Linked DNA regions of Homo sapiens: region 2 is linked to region 1. The links are contacts of gene promoters, found by promoter capture Hi-C in blood cells and fetal thymus (Javierre and others, 2016). All regions are on one chromosome and are shown on one strand. The core of a region is centred on a gene start or on the middle of the fragment in contact, and the rest is flanking DNA. Distances in the headings are between cores, read along the strand shown.

Region 1 (5,954 bases), core at 2,354-4,853:
ATAAAAAGGTTAAACAACATATAAGGGCACACAACCCCAATCCCTTCTGTGAGCTGGTAGGGAAGAAGAGTGGGGAACAGTCAGCAAACCTAACACATCTTTCCATAAGCTCTCAGAAAAGGCATACTTCTTGTTCGTCCCCACTGTACAGACAAAGAAACAGACCAGAGAGGGAAGGGTTGATCTATATTTGCCAGTCCTTTGTCCTCTGATACTTATTTCTCCCTGGCTCAGGATGCCCAAGACTGTGCCTGGACACTCCTACCTTCGCGATCTCTGTTATCTCTGTGGTTATTTCTTCTTTTCCTATTTCTAATGCCTCCTGGAACTCCTATTAGATGTATATTGACTCTTCTAGATCTACTTTGCATGTCATGGGTAGTCTTTCCCACTTTCTTTTTTTTTTTTTTTTTTTTTTTTTTTGAGACAGTTTCACTGTCAGCCAGGCTGAAGTGCAGTGGCAGCCTCCACTGCCTGAACAGCTGGGACGACAGGTGTGCACTACCATACTGCTAATTTTAAAAATGATTTGTGGCCAGGTGCGGTGGCTCACGCCTGTAATCCCAACACTTTGGGAGGCTGAGGCAGGTGGATCATGAGGTCAGGAGATCAAGACTATCCTGGCTAACATGGTGAAACCCGTCTCTACTAAAAATACAAAAATTAGCCGGGCATGGTGGCGGGCGCCTGTAGTCCCAGCTACTCGGGAGGCTGAGGCAGGAGAATGGCGTGAACCTGGGAGGTGGAGCTCGCAGTAAGCCGAGATGGCGCCACTGCACTCCAGCCTGGGCAACAGAGCCAGACTCCGTCTCAAAAAAAAAAAAAATTATTTGTAGAGACAGGGTCTCATTATGTTGCCTAGGCTGCTCTCAAACTCCTGGAATCCAGAGATCCTCCTGCCTCGGCCTTCCAAAGTGTTGGAATTACAGGCATGAGCCACCACACCTGGCCCTTTCCTACTTTCCATGTTTAAATATTCAAGAATCAATTGCTTTTTTTCATGGCAGCCTGTATGTGTTCAGTAGGCATAATACCTTAACAAATTTGAAGATACTAATACTTACTTTAAAGCTTTCTTTTGTCTTACATTAGCTCCACTGCTTCAGTGCCTAGTTCTGTATTTGTTTGGTCTGAAGCTTCTCTTAGATGCTACCGATTTCCCACAAATGTTTAGTGATTTTTGTTGTGTGTTCACATTATAAATGTGCTAGTAGTATCTCAGTCCATATGAAAATCACTGTACTCCTGCTGTGAATTCACATTTGTAACTAGCCCTATAATTCAATTTTACACTTATACCTAGTGCTTGTGTAGCATGACAATAACAATGTAAGTTCTTTGACTTGCAGTCCCGTGATTCTTCAATCCACTTTCAGTCATATCCTTTTGGTATTTCATTTCCTCTAAAAAACCACTAACTTGAGTAATACAGTTCTTAAGTAAATGTTATGCTAAACTTCAGAGTCAGATCCTCACCAGCTCTAACAGACTTGTCTAACAGTTAAACAAACAATGACAGTCCGACAGAAGACAGTCATAAATGTGCAATTCAAAGGGTAAATAATAACATGGTAATGAATGAATCACTTACGTCTTGAACTCATAATAGTTATGCTTTTTTAAAACCAACCTTGAATGTTATATTAGTTAAAATAACAAATTCTATTACATTAAAAAAAAGATGACTCCATGTTGGTTAAATTTTCTGCCTTTGGTTGGTAATGGTATGGTTGGTAATGACTCCATGTTGGTAATTTTCTGCTTATGCCATGACTCAGTCATTCTATAGCTGACAGAAATGCATACAGATGCTCACCAAGACATTTAATTTACAAGAATGTCCACAGTACTCTTTTTTTTTTCTTTTCTTTTTGAGACCGAGTCAGGCTCTGTCGTCCAGGCTGGAGTGCAGTGGCACGATCTCGGCTCACTGCAACCTCCACCTCCCGCCTCAGCCTCCCAAGTAGCTGGGCTTACAGGCGCCCGCCACCACGCCTGGCTAATTTTTGTATTTTTAGTAGAGATGCGGTTTCACCATGTTTGCCAGGCTGGTCTCGAACTCCTGACCAAGTGATCCACCTGCCTCGGCCTCCCCAAGCGCTGGGATAAAAGGCCTGAGCCACCACGCCAGGCCCACAGTATTCTTAATATCCAAAACACATCATATACAAAAATTGGGAACATAAATGTCCATCAACTGAAGAGTAGTCACATATTATTCAATAGACTATTACACAGTAATAATACAATACCATGAAATAGCATGGGTGTGTCCCACAAACAATATGCTGAGAATACTACGTGATTCCATTAACATGAAGCTCAAAACAGAGAAAACTAAAAGCAGATAAGAGAAGTTAGAATACAGATGGGAAAACAAGGATATAACTGACTTGGAAGAAGCACAGGAAAATAGGATGATGGAAATGTTCTATGGTTATAATTTGATATATCTGGTGGTTCCACAGGGTAATAAGTATGTAAAAATTCATTGAGCTGTACAATTAAGATTCGTGCTCTTATTGATTTCATATGTATTTTATGCCTCGACAAAAACAAAGAGAAAAATGCAGCTTCTAAACTGGTTGGAACTGTGTTTATTTAGGCCAAAATCCTCTGAGCCACAAATACTGGAAATCCATCTTTTTTCATTCTTTTAGTTACATGACAACTTTAAACAAATGGTACAAGAACAATAATACAAAATGAACGCTAACACTCAGTCCTAAAATACTTGGCTTCTTACTTCCAAGATCGAAGCTACTATTTTAATACAACATTCAAAAAACAACATTAATTACCAGACATGAAGGCCCTGCTCCCGCGAGCCTTGAATGACGGTGAAACGTCACGACATCCCATATCTATCTCAAAAGCACGCTAGAAAATACCTCCAAGTTTAACAAGCCAAGGACTCAGGAAGAGAAGCTTCAGATGTATAATCAAACTATCATACCGCCAATACCATCATCACAAACAGAAGTATCACTGTCGTGCTTCCTGCGTTGCTCAAGGGTAGAGTCATTTTTAAGGTGCATTCTCCGACAACGCCAGAGGCTCCCCATCTCCTCCGCCCCACTGAGCCCTCCACGACAGAGCATCTTTACCGGCGCTCGCTCTGCCATCTACAGATAAAGAGGGGCTGAGGGCAGAACTATTTTAACGCGATGACGAGGTCACCACTGATTAAAAAGTTTATCCACTGAGAGGAGCAGAGATGGTGATGAATAGGTAAAAACAAAACGAAACAAAACAAAACCCAACACTGACAAGCGAACCAATCGTCTCTGGCCGCGCTTTCCCTAAAACCGGTGCCGACTCCGGCAGGCTCATCCCTGAGAGACAGGGCCCCCCGCAGGACCGGTCCGCTAGGCGACCCCACCCGACCACACAGGAGCCCGCAGCCCCGGCGCCCGCACCGCCCGGGCCGGAGCCGGCGGGAGTCGCGGACCGGCGGGCGAGGCCGGGCCAGGTACTCACCGCGCTCGCCCGCTCTGCGCTCCACCGCCTCCTGCGCCGCGGGGACACCCGGGCGGCGCCTCACGCCTTGGGCCCGCCGCCGCCTCAGCCACCCACCCCCGGGCGCGCCGCCGCGCCTGAGAGGCCACTTCCGGCGCGCGCGAGGAAATGAAGCCGCCGCGCGCCCGCGGCCCCGCCCAGGAAGCTCCGCCACTGGCAGCTGGGTACCGATTCATCACCGACGTGTTTAAAGTATCCGTGTGTGTGCCTCCAAAAACCGTTTGTGGAGACAGCAGAGTGCCCGAGGCAGGAAACCGCTCCGGCCTGGAGGCGCCCCTGCCCGGACTCGTGGACTGCAGCGCTGTCCCGCTCGGAAGCCGATCCTGGGAGTCCGAGCGGGGCCGCGGGGCCTGCGTGGCAGCCGAGTCGAGGGCTTCGGGCCGCGGGGCTGTGGAGCGCCCCTTGGCGCTGGGCCGCCGGCAGCCGTGAGCGCATCACTGCATTTCCCTGGAGGAATTCCTCATCTGTTGAATGAGGGAGTTGAGGCGGACACGCTGGGAAATGGCTTCGAGCTCACACACTGATTTTCGTGAGTGGAAAGAGAAGCCCTTTCTTAGGCGTCTTCCATACCACTGCATGTTCCAGGGTCCTCCCTGGGCTCTCTGTCTCCCACGCCACCGCGAGCACGGCCTAAGCGGGCGAGCGAAGGCGCGACGGCGCCGAGAGCCGGCTGTGGTGGGTGCCGGGCGCGTCACCGCGGGCTGGCGGGGGAGGGGACGCTGGGAAGCTCTCCAGAAAGAGGAGCCGCCACCGAGCAAATTCCCATCTGCCACGCACCGCAGAGCCTCGCCCTCCGCCGCCAGCATTTTCTTTCTTTGTTCTCCTAGCCCTACAAACGCTGGGTTTCCTTTCTCATTCGTGGACTTTTTTCCCTGGATCCTTCTTACTGCTCCTACCCTGTGGCCGCACGTCTGGCAGATGCGCGGCGGGCGCTGCCTGAACCCCCGAATCCTCACAAGCCTCTGTGCAGCGGCCACGGCCCTCAGCTAGCGGCGGGGAGACTGAAGCCGCAGGGTCAGGGTTAGTTGCCACATGTTTTAAATTCCTATCCAAACTTCCATTATAATTGTTTTTATTTATTTATTCATCTATTTTTTGAGACAGGGTCCCGCTCTGTCGCCCAGGCTGGAGTGCAGTGGAGCGATCACGGTTCACTGCAGCCTCCCCACCTCCGACTCCAGCGATCCTCTCGCCTCAGCCTCCCGAGTAGCTGGGACCACAGGTGCATGCCACCATGCCCGGCTAATTGTTAATATTTTTTTTGGTAGAGATGGGGCCTCCCTCTGTTGCCTAGGCTGGCCTTGAACTCCTGGGCTCAAGCGATCTTCCAGCTTCGGCCTCCCAAAGTGCTGGCATTACAGGCGTGAGTCACCCCGCCTGGCAAGAATTGTTGTTTTGAAACTAACTGAGGTTCTCCCATCAATGGATTTAAATTGTTACTTTTTAATGATTTTTTTTTAAGTAGCCAAATACTAAATGTATGTAATTTGAATGTGGAGAGAAGATAATGCATGATTCAAATTATGTGGCTGATCATGGGTGATACACTGGGATATAGTTGTAAAATAAGTAGTTCTCCTAGGGAAAATATTAAAGTACAACTGTGTTGGGTTTAATATCAGAAAAATGTAATTAAAAACATTTCCTGCCAATAATTTCCAATCTGATACTTAAACAAAACAAAACAATAAAAGTTTCCCATCTCTTTCGGGCCTTTTAAATTTCTACCAAAAGTAAGTGATGCTGGCTGATTCCCCTGCTATAGCAAGTTGTGAATAAATAGCCTTTGCTGGTTTCCACAGTTTTCCTGGTGATCCCATGGTAAGTCTGTACTGCTTGTCCCTGAGGTCCCCAGGCTTCCACCCATTGTGCCACCCAGAGGCCCCTCATGCCTCCATGTTCTCGGCCTATCAGGTGCGCCGATGTGGTCAGCACTAGGGCTCACCTCACTCTGCGTGGAGGTCTCTGGCTATTTATTCTCAGTTTGGTACTCTGGTTTTGTTATTGATTCTCATTTGTCTGGCATCTCTAGTGGAATCAGGCCATTCTTTTTATCCCTTTTCACTGTATTTTGTGTTAGTGTTTAGTGTTGTGCTGTCAAAAAGTGCTGCTTGTCATAAGAAGGAAAACCGTAGGAAAGGACACAGGCATGGGGCTCATAAGCCTCTTGTTTGAGCCAGCCTCGCAGCTCATGATTTAGCAGTTCTCATCACACCGGCCTCTACTTGGAGAAACTTTGCTGTGGGTTTCCAGTAAAACTGAATGAGGTTCTCCTTCCGTCTCGCTTTCATGTCCTGAGAGACACAAACATTCCATTTCTCGCCAGCCTCACCAGCCAGCATTCATGGTGTTGTCTAAGTTTAAATCTCCTCCTCCAGAAAAAACTCCTGCTTCTTACATATACTCTCTAACAATTCTAATCCTTACGCCCATCT
Region 2 (5,954 bases), core at 1,884-4,383, 1.9 Mb before region 1:
AAGTGCTGCTTACTTCATGGTCAGTTTGATTATTTCTCTTTCTTCCTCTTCTTTTAATTTTTCAACAAAACTGTCCAGCACCGGCATTTCAAACTTAATGTACTGAGCGACCTAGAAAATCCAAGAACATTTTAATGTGCTTTAAATTCGAAGCCAAAAGTATGTTTTCTTTTCCTCAAGGCTTCCATAGTGGCCCATCCAGCCAACATCTTGTATCCACAGAAGGAGCTGCCGCTTTTCCCACCCCACCCCCACACTGCTGTGTTGTGTACAGATGCCAGGACGGGAGCCTATTACTATCTCAAAGGCAACTGTTATCCCTGGGAGGAAATATTAAACTGAATATTAGGAAGAGCATTCAGTACAGCAGCATTGTCACATTGGGTGCCCTCTGGGCTAGGGGGTAGGGAGGTGGGAGCACCATTGTTTCTAACAATGGAATGCAATTGCAGCAGCCTGAGGGATACGGGGTCACTAGGCCTCCTACTTGAGGTTCAAACCCTGTAAGCATCTTCTATGCAGAGGAGTTTGGAAATGCACTCACTGTCTGGTCAGAACTCAGGCTGTTGGTAAGACTTAAATATCTCCCTGTTTTCCACAGGTGCGAGGTAGGGCCTAGTTAAAAAGCCTTTGCATAGGTCTCTCACATAATGACAACAAAATACATTCCAATGAAGGAAAAGACTTTACTTCCCTAGAGGAAAAGGACAGGCCATGGTTTTATAGGACCCAAATTCTTCTTTCCCCTAAGCTGCTGGTGCTGGCGGTCACTGATGGGAGAGGGAGGGCTGGCGCCTCCCTGTGCTAGGCTGGGAGCCCTTTGGGAGAGTGTGGAGCTCCTGGAGACATCAACTGACAGGGCTCTGGCCAGGAGTCCTTGGGAGGCCCCGTCACCCAAGAACCCCTCACCCTAGAGCAGGCCTCCCCAGCCTTGGCCCCCACTCACTTCATGGGGGACTTCCACGCCCAAGTCAGCTTCCATCAGGAAGATCCTGGCGATCTTCTCACATGGCCCATGCAGGATTCTGGAAATCAGCGGGTACTCGCAGTCTTTTAATTTTGTCCGCTCTGAAAAAGAAGGTGGTTTACAAAAATCACGGGAGATTAGGATCACCTCTGTCTGTTCCAGATTAGGAACTGATAGAAAATGTGCGTCTAGGGGCGCAGGGAACCCTAAGAACACAGACCTCGCTAACAGCGCTGCCCTGAGAGATTCCTGCTCATGCAGAAGGGAGGCAGAACAGGGCCCCCAGATCTGCCACTTTGGCATAAGGATTAAGTGGAGCGGCTGGCAATTGAGAAGAAGAAGATACAAGTGAGGCTCTTTGCCCTCCCCTATTTGCCAAAAAGCAGGACATAAATTTGTCAAGGTGTGCCCCCGTCCCTCTCTAGGCAATGATGGAGTTAATCACCAGAGACAACCCGAGCCCCTCCTCAGCCTGGAGAGGGCACCAGAGGAACCTGCACAGCACGTCCCGCTGAAGCCCTTCCCTTCCCGCAGCTCCCCGTGCGGTGACCTTCCCACCCTTCGCCTCCCCAGAAACTCAGGCCCTTCTCCTCTGTCTTGTCACTTCTCTAAAAACTTACTGCTCTTTTGTGAATATGCTATTTAAGCCCAAATTCTGACCATTCATCCCTGGATATTCCAAAGGGCATGCATGATGCAAGTGTTAACAAACTTCTGTTTGTTCTTCTCCTTAATCTGTCTTTTGTTAATCTAAATACAGGGCCCCAGCCAGTGAACCTAAATGGGTAGAAAGAGAAGATAATTTTCCTCCCCTACAGTGTCATTCAGCAAAGGTGCAGCTTGAAGAGAAACAAGATCTGAGGGGTGGGAGAAAGGAAAGCTGAGACGGGAGGGCCAGGGCCTGATGCACTGCGACACGCACCCCACCCTTCCTGACTCGGCGCCAAGGAGCTAGGTACCCACCCATCCATTTCTCTGGAAGAGGCGGAGAGGGAGGCTTCCTATAGCTTGGTGGGATTCTCCTTCAGAATCCTGAAAGAATTAAACTTAATGTACTGAGCGACCTAGAAAATCCAAGGACATTTTAATGTGCTTTAAATTCGAAGCCAAAAGTATGTTTTCTTTTCCTCAAGGCTTCCATAGTGTGCCTGGGTTTGGGTGGGGGAGAAATGTTCATGCTGGGAGGCACAGTGTGCCCTAGCCCACTAGGCAAGCCAGCACGGAGCCCATCTGGAAGGGAGTACAGTCAGTGGTTGGTGGGGAGGGGGCTTGCTGAACAGGTAGAGACCTTTTGCTTTTACGATCCAGAAGTGGGGCAGGTACTTACCCCCAGACTCGTGAACGATGTAGAGTGCGAACTCACTGGGGCCATCTTCCACCTGCACAGGCAGTCACAGGAAGTCAGATCACGGTGCTTGGAGATGGGAGAGAACTGAGAGGGTCCCCTGACAGTAACTACACCCCCAGTAACACACACGCAAGTTGCAAGGAACCTGTCCTCTCCCAACCTCCTCTTGCTTGAAATCCGAGAAACCAAAGCTCAGCAGAGGGACCCTTGCTAGACCTTCTGCCCAGGCAGCTTCTGCCACGGGCAGCTTTCCCCAGAACCCCACCCCCAACAGAATAGCAGACCACTGGCATCCTGGGGCAAGGCTGCTCCTGACCAGGCTTACCCTAAATTTGTTCAGCAGCAGGGTGAGCACCTGCAGGGTTGTCATGGTGCTGTTGACCCTCACATTGGTCACGGATCCATAGGCTGGAGTAAACACGGAGGTCTGTACCAGGAAGGGAGAGAAGTTCAGGTCAGGCCCAGAGGGGACAAGGGACTGACATCACAACGGTGAACAGACCAAGGCAGCAGGTGACGCTGAGATCTGGGAACACCTGCACCTGTCCATTCACGCTGATGCACACATAAGCTGTTCCCAGACCTGGGAGACACTCCGGGAAGCTGTAGTAGTGCACTCCTTCCAGAGGCCTAAGGAAGATGTCTACACACCCAGAAGGGCCAGCTCTCTGGACCCGAGGAACCAGGGCCATGGAAGTCATTCACAAGGGTGGGGGAATCAGTCTCTCCATCACTCTTTCTATTGATTAAGTCACCAGTTGTCTGTTGATTCTAAGGCTGAAAGTTACCCAATCTGTCTCCTCCTCTTCATTCTCCCAGCAGTGCCTAGTAGAGGCACTGATCACACCATATCAGCTTCCCAGCTTGTTCCCTTCTGGTCTCAGTCCCTCTAATCCGTAGTCTGCACCGCTGCCTACAGGAACGGACTTCTAAAACCCTTGCACCTCCAAGTGACGTCTAGCCCAGCTGCATCCATACAGTCTCGGCTCCCTTCCCTACCCTGCTCCATACCATCTGAATCAGAGTCTGCGTCTGTAGAACACAAGGCGAAGCGATCTGTGCAGTTCAATGTGAGAAGCACTGTTTGAAAGCGCGGGTCTAAAAGTATCTGAAGGCTTCCTGGGGACTGTGCAATAACATCTGTAGTTCTTCTCATTGTCTCGCACGTATGACACTATGGTTGCCTAACAAGCACCATGTGCTCCAGTCACAGAGCTTCTTCACAATTTGGCTGGGGGGTGGGGGGACACATTATATTTTTGCAGGTATCTTGCCTTTGCCTAAGAGACACCATATATGAAATCAACCAGGACTCTGCCTGACACATAATAGGTCCGTCCTCAATAAACCCTAGCTGTGTATTGAACCCGCTAAGATTTTACATACAATCATTGATTTAATATTCATAACAACCCTTTGAGGCAGCTATAACTAGTCCCCTTTTCTTAGAAAGGAATCAGAGGCTTTAGGAGGTTAACCAGCTTGTTCAGAGTTACCCACCTAGAAAAGACAGAGCCCTGACTCAAAGGATTCCATGATTCCTGAAAACCTACATGTTACCCCCCTGGTGCTGGTGCCTCCCAGCGAATGTGACTCCTCTGCAGGTGAACCTCTCCTTGCTTTTCAAACTCAAGTTTAGATTCGCATATTCCTCCTCTGAGATCCTAGCTCTGTTTTCCCAAGGAGGTAGCTAAGGCTCAGAGAGCTCAAGGACCTATTCAGTATCCCCGCTCTGATAAGTCCAGGCACACCTGGGAGCCATTGTGAGTTCAGGTCCAGACCATCACAATGAAGCGAATATCTCAATAAAGTGAGTCACACAAATGTTTTGGTTTCCCAGGGCATATACAAGATATGTTTATACTATACTGTAGTTTCTTAAGGGTGAGACAGTACTACATCTAAAAAATATGCATGCCTTAATTAAAACTACTTTATTGCTAAAAAATCTGACACAGAGACACAAAGTGAGCACATAGTGTTGGAAAACGGCACCGATAGACTTGTTCAACACAAGGTTGCCACACACCTTCAATTTGCAGAAACCGCAGGTGCAGCAAAAAAAAAAAAAAAAGTGCACATTTTTGCAAATGGAAGGTTGCTGAACAGCAACCTTCCATTTGCAAAAATCTGCAAGGTACAGTAACAAGAAGCACAATAAAATGAAGCACGCTGTGCCAGAGTCAGACTCAACCTCGACCTGCTTCCCCCAGCTCGATTCTAGTTGAGGTGCAGAATGACTGAGTTATACAGAAAGCCAGGATTAGGATTAGGCTTTCTTGTCCAAAGAAATATGGAAGAGAGGGCCAGGTGCAGTGGCTTACGCCTGTAATCCCAGCACTTTGGTAGGCAAAGGCGGGCGGATCACGAGGTCAGGAGTTCAAGACCAGTCTGGCCAATATGGTGAAACCCTGTCTCTACAAAAAATACAAAAATTAGCCAGGCATCGTGGTGCGCACCTGTAGTCCCAGCTACTCAGGAAGCAGAAGAATCGCTTGAACCTAGGAGGTGGAGGTTGCAGTGAGCCCAGATCGTGCCACTGCACTCCAGCCTGGCTACAGAGTGAGACTCCATCTCAAATAAAAAAAGAAACATGAAACAGAGGAGTTAGGCTATTTCAAAGGGACAAAAAGTCTTGTTAACAAGACACTGTGTTTCTTCTGCACGAAGCCTTTTCTCAAGATGATACCAACCAACTCCAAGTAGGAACAAAGGCCCCCTGGCTACTTTCTTATCTCTAACCACAAATGGTTTCTCTCTAACAGAACGCATTTGAATCCAATAGGTCAGGCAGTAGAAACAGCTACAAAGTTTCACCCTGTCTGGAAATAAAACCAACATTTCTGGGAATCAGAACAGTTTTGGAAAATGACTGAGTGAAGTAATGGTGCACAGTTCTAAGAAACAAAACCTGGAACTATCTCAGAAATTCAATGCTAGGAATTATTTATTTTTTCAATTGTTGCCTCTGACTCAAGGAATCTGTCCCCTCATTTCTAAGGACATTAGTTCTGTATGGATGTTGAGCGTGGTAAGAAAGGGCTTTTTGCATAGTGCTTTTCTTTGGGACTTCCCTTACCCAGGAGGTGGGGGAGCTACTGTCCCAAATGCTTAAGACACTATTCTGTGTCCTTGAAAGCAGTACTTTTTTCTGGAAGAATGGATTCACATTGCAAGGGCAAATCTGTCACTAGGAGGAAAAGCTGCCCTCACTGGGTGACAGGCTGAGACCCCATGTTGTCTGGCTGAGTAGCTCTTCTTGATAGTGTGGTTCAGTTGGAAATGAGAGGCTGCGATGAAAACCCTCACTGTTCATTTCAAAGGCTGCAGAGTGCTCAGGACATGCAGAGAGCTCAGTGTTCCTATGACACTGGCAATCACTACAATAAGGTTTAATGTACCAGACACACCTCTTAGTGATGAATGAGACCCTTCGAGGAGAAGCGAATGTACCAATGCTAAACTCCACCATTCAGTACTTTGAATCATGGAGCAAAACATCCCTGCCCCCACCCTTTTTTTGGTAAGGAACATAGAACTGGAAAATACCTAAACCCACGCACATATTTTGGAAAATTTTTGAATAATTCCTTACACTAGCATATCAACATTTATTTGAATGCTAACAATGGGTACCCA

The links. The method cuts DNA at HindIII sites, captures the fragments that hold promoters and counts their contacts. A CHiCAGO score of 5 or more calls a contact.
Region 2: a contact is called between a fragment that was not itself captured here and the fragment with the promoter of CSGALNACT2 in region 1, in 1 of 17 cell types (M0 macrophages). The highest score is 5.3, in M0 macrophages.

Annotation. Positions count from the first base shown.
Region 1 is chr10:43,136,094-43,142,047 of GRCh38, reverse strand. It overlaps CSGALNACT2 (chondroitin sulfate N-acetylgalactosaminyltransferase 2), which reads right to left and starts at 3,603. Exons shown (of 8, transcript NM_018590.5): 1 at 3,481-3,603. CSGALNACT2-DT (CSGALNACT2 divergent transcript) reads left to right here and starts at 3,655. Exons shown (of 1, transcript NR_186456.1): 1 at 3,655-5,224. RefSeq lists silencers at 3,067-3,136, 3,247-3,746, 3,917-3,976, 4,107-4,306. The HindIII fragment of the contact is 5,511 bases long and covers 2,931-5,954 here.
Region 2 is chr10:44,986,062-44,992,015 of GRCh38, reverse strand. RASSF4 (Ras association domain family member 4) reads right to left here. Exons shown (of 11, transcript NM_032023.4): 7 at 2,641-2,742; 8 at 2,295-2,346; 9 at 947-1,068; 10 at 14-111. Among named protein-coding and RNA genes, the nearest start is that of DEPP1, 10 kb to the right of the region's middle. RefSeq lists enhancers at 1-293, 323-1,014. The HindIII fragment of the contact is 6,881 bases long and covers 1-5,954 here.